Regions from separate parts of the Homo sapiens genome. Here regions 2 and 3 are each linked to region 1. The links are contacts of gene promoters, found by promoter capture Hi-C in blood cells and fetal thymus (Javierre and others, 2016). All regions are on one chromosome and are shown on one strand. The core of a region is centred on a gene start or on the middle of the fragment in contact, and the rest is flanking DNA. Distances in the headings are between cores, read along the strand shown. Region 1 holds the start of ARHGAP17 (Rho GTPase activating protein 17). Region 2 has its middle 8.1 kb from the start of RBBP6. Region 3 overlaps RBBP6 (RB binding protein 6, ubiquitin ligase).

Region 1 (4,070 bases), core at 1,137-3,636:
GTCAGTGTCCATCTGTTTAATATTCTTTTTTTTTTTTTGAGACAGTAACCTTGTCACGTTGTCTCTGTCACCTTGACTGGACCACCCTGTCACCTAGGCTGGACCACCCTGCAGAGGCCAGATCTCAGCTCACTGCAACCTCTGCCTCCAAGGTTCAAGCGATTGTCTCGTCTCAGCTTCCCCAGCAGCTGGGATTACAGGCGCCCGCCACCACGCCTGACTAATTTTTGTATTTTTAGTAGAGACTGGGTTTCACCATGTTGGCCAGGCTGGTCTTGAACTCCTGACCTCAGGTGATCCACCTACCTCGACCTCCCAAAGTGCTGGGATTACAGGTGTGATGCATTGCACCCAGCCTCAATATTCTTTTTGAGTGCTGACATTTCAGAGTCTTTCTCGTGGCTGAGTTTAATTACACACTCTTGCTCTAGCTGTAAGGCAGAGCTCTCCAGGTTAGCTTCAGTGGACAATCTTTTCATGGTTTTCTCAGAGTTGTTTCTTCCAATAGCCTCTTTTCAGCTAGGGGTCTCACTCTGTCACCCAGACAAGAGTGCAATGGTGTGATAATAGCTCACTGCAGCCTCAAATTCCTGGGCTCAAATGATCCTGTTGCCTCAGCCTTTCAACTAGTTGGGAGTACAGGTGCATGCCACTGCTTCTGGCCTTTTTTTTTTTTTTAAATTTTTCATAGAGATGAGGTTTTAGTATGTTGTCCAGGCTAGTCTCATACTCCTGAGCTCAAGTGATCTTCCCATCTTGACCTCCCAAAGTGCTAGGATTACAGGTGTGAGCCACTGCACCTGGCCCCAGAAGATAATTTTTTATTTGTCTTTTACTCTATGTTCAAATTCTTCAATTTTTTGGTAGACTCTACTTTTTCAATTTGTAGAGCTTGCATGAATAGTGTTTTCCTTCTCTTGAAGTTTAGAGAGATCATGTACTGTAATTCCTGAGCCACCTTGCTGTAACAAATTTTCCAGTTCTTCAATCTTTTCTTCCTAATTGCTTAGATTTTCTTGATGCTTACAACTTATTTCCCTCAATTTCTGTTGATGAACATTCTGTAATACTGATAATTCAAGCTGATGGTCATCAGTATCCTGACTTCTTTTTTGTTTGAGCTCCTTGATGATATTAATATTTGGTGTTTGTAGTTTGTAGATTTCATTTTCATCAAAACTAGTTGTTCCTCCTATTTTATAAGTCTGAGCAATACATTTCCAATGGCCAACTGGAGACTCAAGTTTTAGAACTTCATTGGACTATCTGTTTATTTCTTGTTATGATGAAATTATGTCATAAAAACCCATGTAAGCGTCGTGGAACACTGAAGCATGATGGGTACCACATGGAATGGAGGGGATGCAGTGTGGATGGGAACCTCCGGCCTTCCCTGAATGTGCTGACTCCAGGGCTGGCTGCCGGTCCTGCAACCGATCCTGTAGTGCTTGCTTTCTTGTTTTAGGAAGGCTCATTTCTACCTCTTTCTGTTGTAATTGATGTCGATAACTTTTAGTTTGCTGCCCTATCTGAAGCTCTGATGCTTCCTAGGTCTCTCCTAGGTCACTAAAAAGATCTTGAAGTCCCTCATTCTTTGATATTAAGAATTCCAAACTGGCATCAGTCTCCTTTATCCCATAGTTAGGGAGCTCTTTCCTTTTTCTATGACATTTAGGAGCACATTTGAGATGTGGCTGATGAAAGAAGCCACATTGCTGCCCATCCAATGCAAAGAAGGGGCTTACCTGGAGCCAAGGCCACCAAACCAGGAAGACATGAGTGTGTGAGCACGTGTGTTAAGGAAAACACACATTGACTTTAATTTTTTTTTTTTTTTTTTTTTTCGAGACAGGGTCTCTCACTCTGTTGCCCAGGCTGGAGTGCAGTGGCGCCATCTCGGCTCACTGCAACCTCTGCCTTTCGGGTAAAAGCCGTTCTCCTGCTTCAGCCTCCTGAGTAGCTGGGATTACAGGCGTCCACCACCACGCCCAGCTAAATTTGTATTGTTAGTAGAGACAGGATTTCACCGTGTTGGCCAGGCTGCTCTCGAACTCCCGAGCTCAAGTGATCTGCCCCCTCGGCCTCCCAAAGTGCTGAGATTACAACGTTGAACCACTGCGCCCTGCTAGAAACAGCTTTTCATACGTTGAAATAAACGAGAGGGTGACCGGGCAGCGTTGGGGTCGGGGAGGCCAGGCGGAGGAGGCCTAGTGGTCTTCTCGCCCGGGGCCTTCTAGCTCTTCGCCCGTGTCAGGTAAGGCACTGTTAGCCTCGGCTCGGTTCGACTCGGCTCTACTCGGGCTCAGCTCGGCTCGGCCAGACCTAGAGGGCGGGCGGGCGGTGCCACTGGAAGTGACGAGGCGAGGGCGGGGCCGCCGGCCCGGGGAGCCACCGCCGCGCCGCCGTTTGGGCCGGGAAGCGATGTAGTAGCTGCCAGGCTGTCCCCCGCCCTGCCCGGCCCGAGCCCCGCGGGCCGCCGCCGCCACCGCCGCCATGAAGAAGCAGTTCAACCGCATGAAGCAGCTGGCTAACCAGACCGTGGGCAGGCGAGTGCGCCGGGCAGCACGGGGGTCGCACCGGGGCTGGGGGCGGAGGGCGGAGGGCGCGGGGGCGGGACGGCTCCTCCGCGGTCCGGCGGCTCTGAGCTGGGCCGCAGCCCCTGCCCGAGACCAGCGGGGCACGGGCCCGGGGGCTGCGCCGCGCTGAGGCCCGAGCGCCGCGCTCCAGGCGGCCCGCCTGTCTCTCAGCGCCGCCGGGCTCCCGAGACCTGCAGGGGAGGGCCGCCGCCTCCTCCGCCACACCGCGGGGTCCCCTGCCCATTGTCCCTGCCCCGGGAGCATCGCCCTCGGGGAGTAGACCCGGTCCTTCTCCTCCCTTCCCGGGGGCCGAGCCAGCTGGGATCGCTGCCCTGGGCTCAACAACGGTGACTTCTGTCCCTAACGCTGTGCCGAGCGCTGTGCTGTGGGGGGCGGCAGTCCCAGGCTTTCCCGGTGCTCCCGCTGTTTGCGAGTCCTTCTCCTGTAAGTGCATGGCGGCAAGAAATGGCTAGAGGGACATGAAAGCCAGCCGGATTTGCTCAGTGAGTTCAGAACGCCCTTTGAGGGAATTCGGAGGTGGTGCTGTCTCAAAACCAGGGCTCCTAGGAACTGGACTGCTGCTGCCAGTTCTTGACATTTAGAAATTAGGAATTGGCGGAAAAGGATTATGGAGACGCCTTGCGCCAATTTAAAAAGTCTCACCTTAGGTTTGGAAACAAATGCTTCTTTATCTTCCTTTGCTACGGTTGAAGTGCTTAACAAGAAACGTTATTGATTATTAAATGGCAGGCTAGACCAGAGTTGGTAGATCAGGTTGTCAGAACAAGAAATGATTTGTGGTTTTTGAGAGTTTCTGGAGGTGACTGTCATGTGCTGTATTATCTGGGGCTAATATTTCAAGGTCTTTCAGGGCAGCTGGCTGTACTGTACCGATTTAGTGTTTATTCAGCAAAGAGATACGAAAGTATGAATTTCTCACAGCTCTTCTTTTGATTTTCTGTTTTTAACAGTTAAGGGGAGTTTGGTTTGGCTGAAGCACGTGGGACACTTCTTTTTTTTGAGTGTATGAAAATACTTTTACTTCCTCTCGAGTTTTCTAAATTTGCTTTTTACTGTTTCATTTCCTCCATCTTTTTGCTTAGTTTCCTTGTTTAATTTTTTCGATTCCCTACCGTATTATTGTGGTGAGAATTAACTCTTATTTTCAGGGTTAATCGCTGCCCCTAAAGCCCAGACAAACCTACTTTTCTGTTATTTGCAGGAAAATTAAAGAAATAATGCTGAGAGGAAGGTAGACGTGTGGTAATGGCGGCTGATGTTTCAAGGAACAGTTTACAAGCACATGATAATTTCTTGTGAGTTTCGTACCCTTGTTAGTGTTCTGAGCAACGTGCATTGTGGAACTAGTATTTAGTAAGTGCCAAGATACATTTGTCAAATAGTCGTTTGGCTTGTTTTTACATTGTTCGTGACAGGTAAGGGACTTTCACTCTTTTTATACAAAGTTCTGAGACTTAAATCTACCAAGCTATT
Region 2 (4,070 bases), core at 468-2,967, 480 kb after region 1:
AGAGATGGGATCTCACTATGCAGCCCAGGCTGGTTTCAAACTCCTGGGCTCAAGTGATCCTCCCCCATCAGCCTCCAAAAGTGCTGGGTTTACAGCCATGAGCCACCGTGCCCCGTCTTGTCCCAGTCCTTTTTTTGTTTGTTTTTGAGACGGAGACTCACTCTGTCACCTAGGCTGGAGTGCAAAGGCGCCATCTCGGTTCACTGCAACCTCCGACTCCCAGGTTCAAGCGATTTCTCATGTCTCAGCCTTCCAAGCAGCTGGGACTACAGGTATGAGCCACCATGTCCAGCTAATTTTTTGTATTTTTAGTAGAAAAGAGATTTTGCCATGTTGACCAGGCTGGTCTCAAACTCCTAACCTCAAGTGATCTGCCCTCCCCCCACCCCTTGGCCTCCCAAAGTGTTGGGATTATAGGCGTGAGCCACCGTGCCTGGCCCCATTTTTTTTTTTAGTTAACCATTTGTCCCCTGCTCTTCTTCATATAGGTATATCTGGATCTCTCTGAAAGGATTTTGCAGACACGACGCCTCTTTATCCCTAAAAAAATCCATGTATATTTCTTGAGAACAAAGGCATTTATCTTACACATTACACTTATCAAAATCCAGAGGTGTAACATTGATACAGAACTATTACCCAATCCACAGTTCCGATTCGAATTTTGCCACCCACTAATGTAATTTATCTCTTTTTTTTTTCCTGGTCTTTGAGCCATTCCTGGATCACACATTGCAATTAATTGCCATGTCTCTCAAATCTCCCTTAGTCTGAAACATTTTGTTAGCCTCTGTCTTCTGAATTTTTTTTTTTTTTTCCTGAGACAGGGGCTTGCTCTGTCACTGAGGCTGGAGTGCAGTGGCATGACCACTGCAGCCTCAAACTCCCTGGCTCAAGTGATCCTTCTTCCTTAGCCTCCCGAGTAGCTGGGACTAAGGCATGTGCCACCACGCCTGGCTAATTTTTAATTTCTTTGTAGAGACAAAGAGTCTCGCTGTGTTGCCCAGACTGGTCTTGAACCCTTGGCTTCAAGCAATCCTCCCTTTTCAGCCTCCCACAGTGTTGGGATTACAGGCATGAGCCACTGCACTCGGTAGTCTTTTGATATTTTTGAAGAGTACGGGATAATTCATGTATATTTATGTCTCTTGATTTGGTTTAATGTTTCCTCATAGTTGGATTTAGGGTTTGAATACCTGGCAGAAAAACCACAGAATTGATGTGTCCTACTCAGGGAATCATTGCAGCAGGGAGTCCGTGATGGCTACTTATTATTGATGATGTTATTTTTATTTATTTTTTTCTTTTCAGAGACAGAGTCTCCTTTTGTTGCCCAGGCTGGTACAATTGTAGTTCACTGTAACCTCAAACTCTTAGACTCATGCAATCCTCCTGCCTAGGCCTCTCAAAGCTTGGGATTTTGAGAACAAAGACATTTTCTCTCACACATTACATTTATTTATTACATTACTTATTTATTTACTACATTACATTTACCAAAATTCAGAGATGTAACATTGATACAGAACTATTATCCAATCCACAGTTCAGATTTGAATTTTGCCACCCACTAATGTAATTTATCTCTTTTTTTTCTGGCCTTTGATCCAATTCTGGACCACGAATTGCAATTAGATCATTACATTTGCATGAGGCATGAGCCACCACACCCAACCTATTTTTGATTTTTAAATAAGGTTGTTTTGCTGGTTTTATCCACTCTACAGATATTACCCCTTTGTAATTAATAAGTAATTTGTGGGGAGATACTTTGAGACTATTTGAAGACCTTGTTCCTCATCAACTTTTCACTCATTAGTCTAGCATTCATTGAAGAGTCCTACCTGAACAATGATTACTACGGCAGTTGCAAAATAGTGATTTTTCTAAGTCCATCATTCCTTTTTAATTTTTTAGTTGTTAGTTTAGATATACTTTGATGAATAGAAATGTTTAAGTATAATGTCAAATTTGAAAGATGTTCCTTTATAGGCAGTGCATTTAGTCTATTCTAAAAGCTTTTAAGTTTACCATTCATATTTAATTCTTTTGTCTAGCTGAGTTCAGTTTTGTTTATGGCATGAACTGCGGGTTCTGTTTCATTTTACTTTCCACATATGGATATCCAAATGTCTCAGCACCTGTCATTTCATAAGTCTTCTGTTTTCTCATGGATTAACATTTTTTTTTCTCCAAATAGTCAACTGTGTTTTTTGGATTAAAAGTATAATAATTCAGCTGGGTATGGTGGCTCATGCCTGCAATCCCAGCACTTTGGGAGGCTGAGGCAGGTGGATCACTTGAGGCCAGGAGTTCAAGTCCAGCCTGGGCAACATGACAAAACCTGTTTCTACTAAAAATACAAAAATTAGCCAGGCATGCTCGTGCACACCTGTAATTCCAGCTACTTGGGAGTCTGAAGAATGAGAATTGCTTGAACCCTGGAGGCAGAGGTTGCAGTGAGCCAAGATCACGCCACTGCACTCCAGCCTGGGCCACAGAGCGAGACTCTGTCCCAAATAATAATAATAATAATAAAGTATAATAATTCACTGAAAATCATTTCTCCCAAAAGTAACCCGTACTATTCTTCCAATAGCACCGATTTTCGAGTTTAATGGTTTTTTTTTGTTTTTTGCTTTTTTTTGTGAGAGTTTCTCTCTGTCATCCAGGGTAGAGTGCAGTGGTTCAACCATAGCTCACTGTAAATTCAAACTACTCGGCTCAAGCAATTCTCTTGTCTTAGCCTCCCTAGTAGCTGGGACTACAGCTGTGTGCCAACATGGCTGGCTAATTTTTTTTTTTTGTATTTTTTGTAGCAACAGGAGTCTTGCTATATTGCCTAGGTTGGTCTTGAACTGCTAGGCTCAAGCAATCTCCCAACTTCAATCTCCCAAAGTGCTGGGATTGAGCCACCACTCCCGGCATTTCTTAAAAATTTAAAGGGGTTAAAAAAAAAAAAGCAAAGAAGAATAATAGTTCATGAAATGTGAAATATTTCCTACTTAGCCCTTTACAGAAAAAGTTTATTGACCCTTTTTCTAAATATTTTTCAGCCATTCCAGTTTGATAAATGACTAGCTGAACTTACAACATTTACCAAAAGTTTGTTTTTTTTTTTTTTACTATATTTTATGATGGTTTAATCACATGGGATGATTTTAGTTTTTAGAAGATTTTTACAATATTATAGTTGACTGCTTTTTGTTTTGCCTTCTCAGCAGCCTTTTAAAGAATGTTCAGCAAGTATGATGGCTCAAGCCTGTCATCCCAGCACTTTGGGGAGATGAGGTGAGAGGATCGCTTGAGCTCAGGAGTTCAAGACCAGCCTCGGCAACATAGGGAGACCCCCATTTCTACCAAAAATTAAAAAATCAGCAGGGCGTGGTGGTGTGCACCTGCAGTCCCAGCTACTTGGGAGGCCAAGGTGAGAGGATCACTTGAGCCCAGGAGGTTGAGGTTGCAGTGAACTATGATCTTGCCACTCCGCTCCAGCCTGGGAGACAGAGCAAGACCCTGTTTTGTTTTGTTTTGTTTTGTTTTGTTTTGTTTTGTTTTCAGATGGAATTTCCCTCTGTTGCCCAGGCTGGAGTGCAGTGGCGTGATCTTGGCTCACTGCAACCTCTGCTTCCCAGGTTCAAGCAATTCTTCTGCCTCAGCCTCCTGAGTAGCTGGGATTACATGCATGAACCACCACGCCAAGCTAATTTTTATATTTTTAGTAGACATGGGGTTTCACTGTGTTGGCCAGGCTGGTCTCCAACTCCTGACCTCAAGTGCTCTGCCTGCTTGGCCTCCCAAAGTGCTGGGATTACAGGCGTGAGTCACTGCGCCAGGCCTAAATGAGACCCTGTCTCCTAAAAGAAAAAAAAAATTCAATTTGTAGAAATGTAAAGTAATAAATTAAGTCATCATATGAATAGATTTTCCGAAAATTGATGTGAGAAATCCATTGTTTTCCCACTATTCATTTAATTCAAAACTCATTCAATTTGAAAAATTTAAAAGTTTGACAATACCATGTGTGAGAGTTGGAGACCAGACCAATTGTTTCCCAAAGTGATTATTCC
Region 3 (4,070 bases), core at 1,024-3,523, 470 kb after region 1:
TTTAAAATGGAGAATGTAACAAGATGTCTGGATCAAAGAAAAAAGTCTTCATCAGGTATTCTGTTCCAGAGAACCAAAAGTTTTAAAATAAAAGCAACATGACTTAAGAGCCCCAAAGACAAATGTAACCAGTCTCAATATGAAGTTCTTAGCCAATGCCCACACAGTAGGGATTCAATAAATGTAAATAAAAAATAATGTTGGCTAAATATAAGACACATCTCACAAATATCTTAGGGTTTTAAAAGTTAATTTGATGGATATTACTGGGATGTTTATTCAGACAAAAGGTTCTTTGCTCCACATTAAGGAACTGACTATAAAAGAGTTCATGATGCACTAACCCTATAACTTAATGCATATCTACATAATTTGCCAATGGGTTATCATTTTTGTCCAGCTTTTAAGTATTTTTTTCCTTTAAGAACTAATCTCAAGTGGTAAGTAGAAAAAAACCTCTAAATAATACATATCTCTTTTTATCTAAAATAAGTTCTGACCTACTCAATCTATTTTAAAGATTTTATACCAACCAGAAGTTACTTGATTTTAAGTAACAAGGACTAGACAAATTGCTGTCAACCATCATCTATACTACATTCTAACCAATAAAACAAATAGTCTTTAAAAATAGCCCATTACTATCTAGAATAGAATATAAATACTGATGATTTCCTTGGAAAGAAAACAATTATATTAACTTTCTTACCACTGGAACTAAAAAACTTAAGAATAAAAAAAAAATCTTCCCACTCCTAACACTTAAGATATAGTATCCTTTTTGTTTTTATGCTGGGCTTTTGTGTGCTTTTAAGCTTTCTGCTAACTTATTAGTATTATGTATTTATTGACTTTGAAGTGGTTTTAGATATGCAACTGCACCTAAATCACCTTTTTACCACCAAGTAATCACTATTGCCCCTAAATATCTTATAGTCCACAAAGAAGTCAAATTTACCTCAAATTTAGAAAAGCAAACAAATGTTTCCTACATATAGCAAGGTGTTCAGAAATGAGCAAAAAATGTTGACAAAGAATGGTTTAAAAATGATTAGGAATTTGTATTACTAAACATCAATAAAAATAGTGACTCTTGGTAAGATACTAATGGTAAAAAAAAGTCTGCCACTTAAAGTCCTCACAAAACGGACTGATGCAGACCGTAGACATTAAAATTAACCCACCTCCCTGTACCTAATTAGGGGTCTTGTTTTGGGAAGCAAGGATCTAAAATCTTTTATGCCAATTATATTAGCTTTTTGAAGTTAAAGAATCCTATAAAATACCACTCTGATATTTAGTTAGCAAGAAGAACATCCAGCTTTGGGGTATCAACATGGATGGATGACTAAAAACAAGACTGGGGAATATGGAAACAGCCATCCATTCTTGATTAGAGTTCGCTTCCATTACCAAAACTATACATTTACTTTACTAATCAGGATAAGAAAAATTTGGCTTAGCGCCTCTATTTACTTTGCTTTTGTGAATGTGTACAATCCACGTGACTCTAAATCTCCTAAGATGGGCACTAATTATGCTTGATGAATATATTCTCATCTTAAATGCCAGCAAATGTACCCCAAGCAAATAAATGATGGGGACAACAAGGTTATCTAATATCTCTATTTCAGATAATTCTACCTAAAAATTAAAGCCAATTTTAAAGTATTAAAAAAAAAAGAAAAGAAAAGAGAAACCTAAATAAGCTTAAATAAACTGCTTCTTATAAATGTAATACAGACATGCCGGAACACACAAGGCTAAAAGAATGTTAACTTTATTTATGAACATGTGATTTGTGTTTATACACATGCTAATAAACAAAAAGGAAATAACTGTTTTCAAGAAATAAAACTTCATCTGAATTAGTTTAAATACTATATAAACTGTACTTTATACAAAATGTGTTACATTAACTACTACAGTCACCAGGATAGTCAATCTAATTTATGCTAGCATTTGGATACATAAAAATCAGTTTTAAACCAATCACCAGCAAAACATAAGCTTGGACAGTTTTTACAGCATTATGCTTAAAAAAAAAAAACAAAAAAACAAAAAAAAACACCCCATATCCAAAAAGAGGAAAAAAAAACCCCAAACACTAAGACTTTTGATCTTAGAATCACTGTATTTAGTTCCACAAGAACTAAAGGCCATATACTCTAAAGAACAAGTCCAATGTTCAGATATTCTATATTATCATGTTTAAGATCCAATGATCCAAGGTTAGTGAAATGCCTCATATACAAAGAGCAATAGTATTTAAAAAGTATATAATGTGAAATAGCAAGCAATACCCTTGAATTCTAAATGAAGATTTTAGACATCTTGCATTGTGTACAATATCAAGCCTGGGCATTAAAATGTTTAGAGAACCATTACATTTACAGAACCCAATTATGATAGACCTGTGTTATGAAACAGATGCTTCACCCCACAACTTAGGAATGCTGCTACTTTTTACTTAAGAGCTCAAAGTTAAAATGGTATCACAAATTAAGTTAATCTGTGATTACAAAAATTAAGCTTAACTTTCTTCAAACCAGTTATCCTGGTTAAGGGGAGTTACCTCTGATAAGGTACAGCTTTCAATGGCCTAAAATTAACGCAGCATTTTAGTATAAGAGGGAAATATTTTAATTTGGACATCTGCACTAACTAGATAGAAGTGGAAGATCTCATTAAACTTTGAAAACAATATAATCAGTTTATATAAACTCAAAATCACTAAGACACTTATATATTCATAGGGGGCCCCAGGTTCAGGTTTCACTTTATAGTACAGATGTAAACAAAAGAAGGAGCTCAAAATGCCAAATAAAGCAAGACTAAATAATAAAGCTGCATCAATGGTCTCTGGAAAGCTCTTTTCTATGATGTGTTTGAACTTGGAGAAAGCATCAAACTTTAATATAAGCTTTGCATGTTGCTAATGCGTTTTTGGAAGCCATAAATCAGGCAGGAAAAAAAAAACTAACAAAAACTAAGTGATACAACGTGAAAATGGCAAAATATACACTCCAAACATTTTTTATTGCAAGAAACAAAAAGCACACAACAGCCTGTACATACATACAAAATACTAACTATAGACAGACAAATGTAGAACATGTCATCATGTTCCTTAGTGTAAAACCTAAACGATCTAAAAAGGATCATACATTAACTGTACAACACAGTGTCATACAGGGATAATGCTATCATATTTAATATGAAACAGTGTTACGGGCACAAATTACCCATTTCTACAAAATAAGTGTGCAAGTGATGCCACATATTATCCATATTCAACTGAGCTGTCATCAAAATACATTTTATTTACAATATGTACTATGATCAGTTGGATATTAAGTTCTAAAATGATTTACTTCACTGCTACATTATAAAGGTAAAAGCAATGTGTAGAAAAAGTGTGAGATTGTGTTTTTACATACTGCTTTTGTAGTTGCCATCGCTGGTTCAGTTCGACTTCTAAAACACAAAATAAAAACAAAAATTAACATTAGCTATTTATGAATTTTTGTGCTAATAAATTTTAACACATTATCTTCAATAATACATTTTTAGGAACCTAATTTTCCTTTGGTATAAATATTTAACAGCCAATTTCTGAATGAATAAATTACTCTGATTAATCTTTACCACCTTTGAGCAGTTTTAAGATAGATTTGTGGTTTGGAAAAAAATTCCATACTAGGGAATTCAAAAATAGGTGTACCCTGCCACTTAAAACAAATGTTTTCTGAAAGGTAGTATAGGGATTTTATGTTTAGAAACGTAGTTTATTCTTAATAAACTGAAAATTTTAAATTATATAATTTCCCAGTTTCTGAATGCGTAAATTTTCACACATCAGGAAGACTGCTGTTGTTAACATTTGTAATTTGAATCCCTGAGAAATTGCTGTGCTCCCAAAACTAATTTTCAAATCTGGAGGGCCAGGCTGATAGCTATTTTCATTTTTCAAATGTCTCAAAACAACAATCAAGGATTGAACAAGAGGCCAAGGTGAGAGGATCACTTGAGCCCAGGAGTTTGAGACTAACCTGGGCTGTAACATAGTG

The links. Contacts are between HindIII fragments. The CHiCAGO score rates a contact against its expected background, and 5 or more counts as called.
Region 2: a contact is called between a fragment that was not itself captured here and the fragment with the promoter of ARHGAP17 in region 1, in 1 of 17 cell types (total CD8 T cells). The highest score is 5.9, in total CD8 T cells.
Region 3: a fragment that was not itself captured here is called in contact with the fragment with the promoter of ARHGAP17 in region 1 in 1 of 17 cell types (activated CD4 T cells); the score reaches 5.2 in activated CD4 T cells.

Annotation. Positions count from the first base shown.
Region 1 is chr16:25,013,685-25,017,754 of GRCh38, reverse strand. It overlaps ARHGAP17 (Rho GTPase activating protein 17), which reads left to right and starts at 2,386. Exons shown (of 20, transcript NM_001006634.3): 1 at 2,386-2,546. The coding sequence starts at 2,494. It also overlaps the pseudogene LOC100421171. RefSeq lists silencers at 2,248-2,497, 2,578-2,627, 2,688-2,737, 2,798-2,847 and enhancers at 2,161-2,829, 2,830-3,498. The HindIII fragment of the contact is 8,408 bases long and covers 1-4,070 here.
Region 2 is chr16:24,529,411-24,533,480 of GRCh38, reverse strand. No RefSeq gene overlaps it. Among named protein-coding and RNA genes, the nearest start is that of RBBP6, 8.1 kb to the left of the region's middle. The HindIII fragment of the contact is 607 bases long and covers 1,414-2,020 here.
Region 3 is chr16:24,548,352-24,552,421 of GRCh38, reverse strand. RBBP6 (RB binding protein 6, ubiquitin ligase) reads right to left here. Exons shown (of 18, transcript NM_006910.5): 3 at 3,441-3,477. Among named protein-coding and RNA genes, the nearest start is that of RBBP6, 11 kb to the right of the region's middle. The HindIII fragment of the contact is 522 bases long and covers 2,013-2,534 here.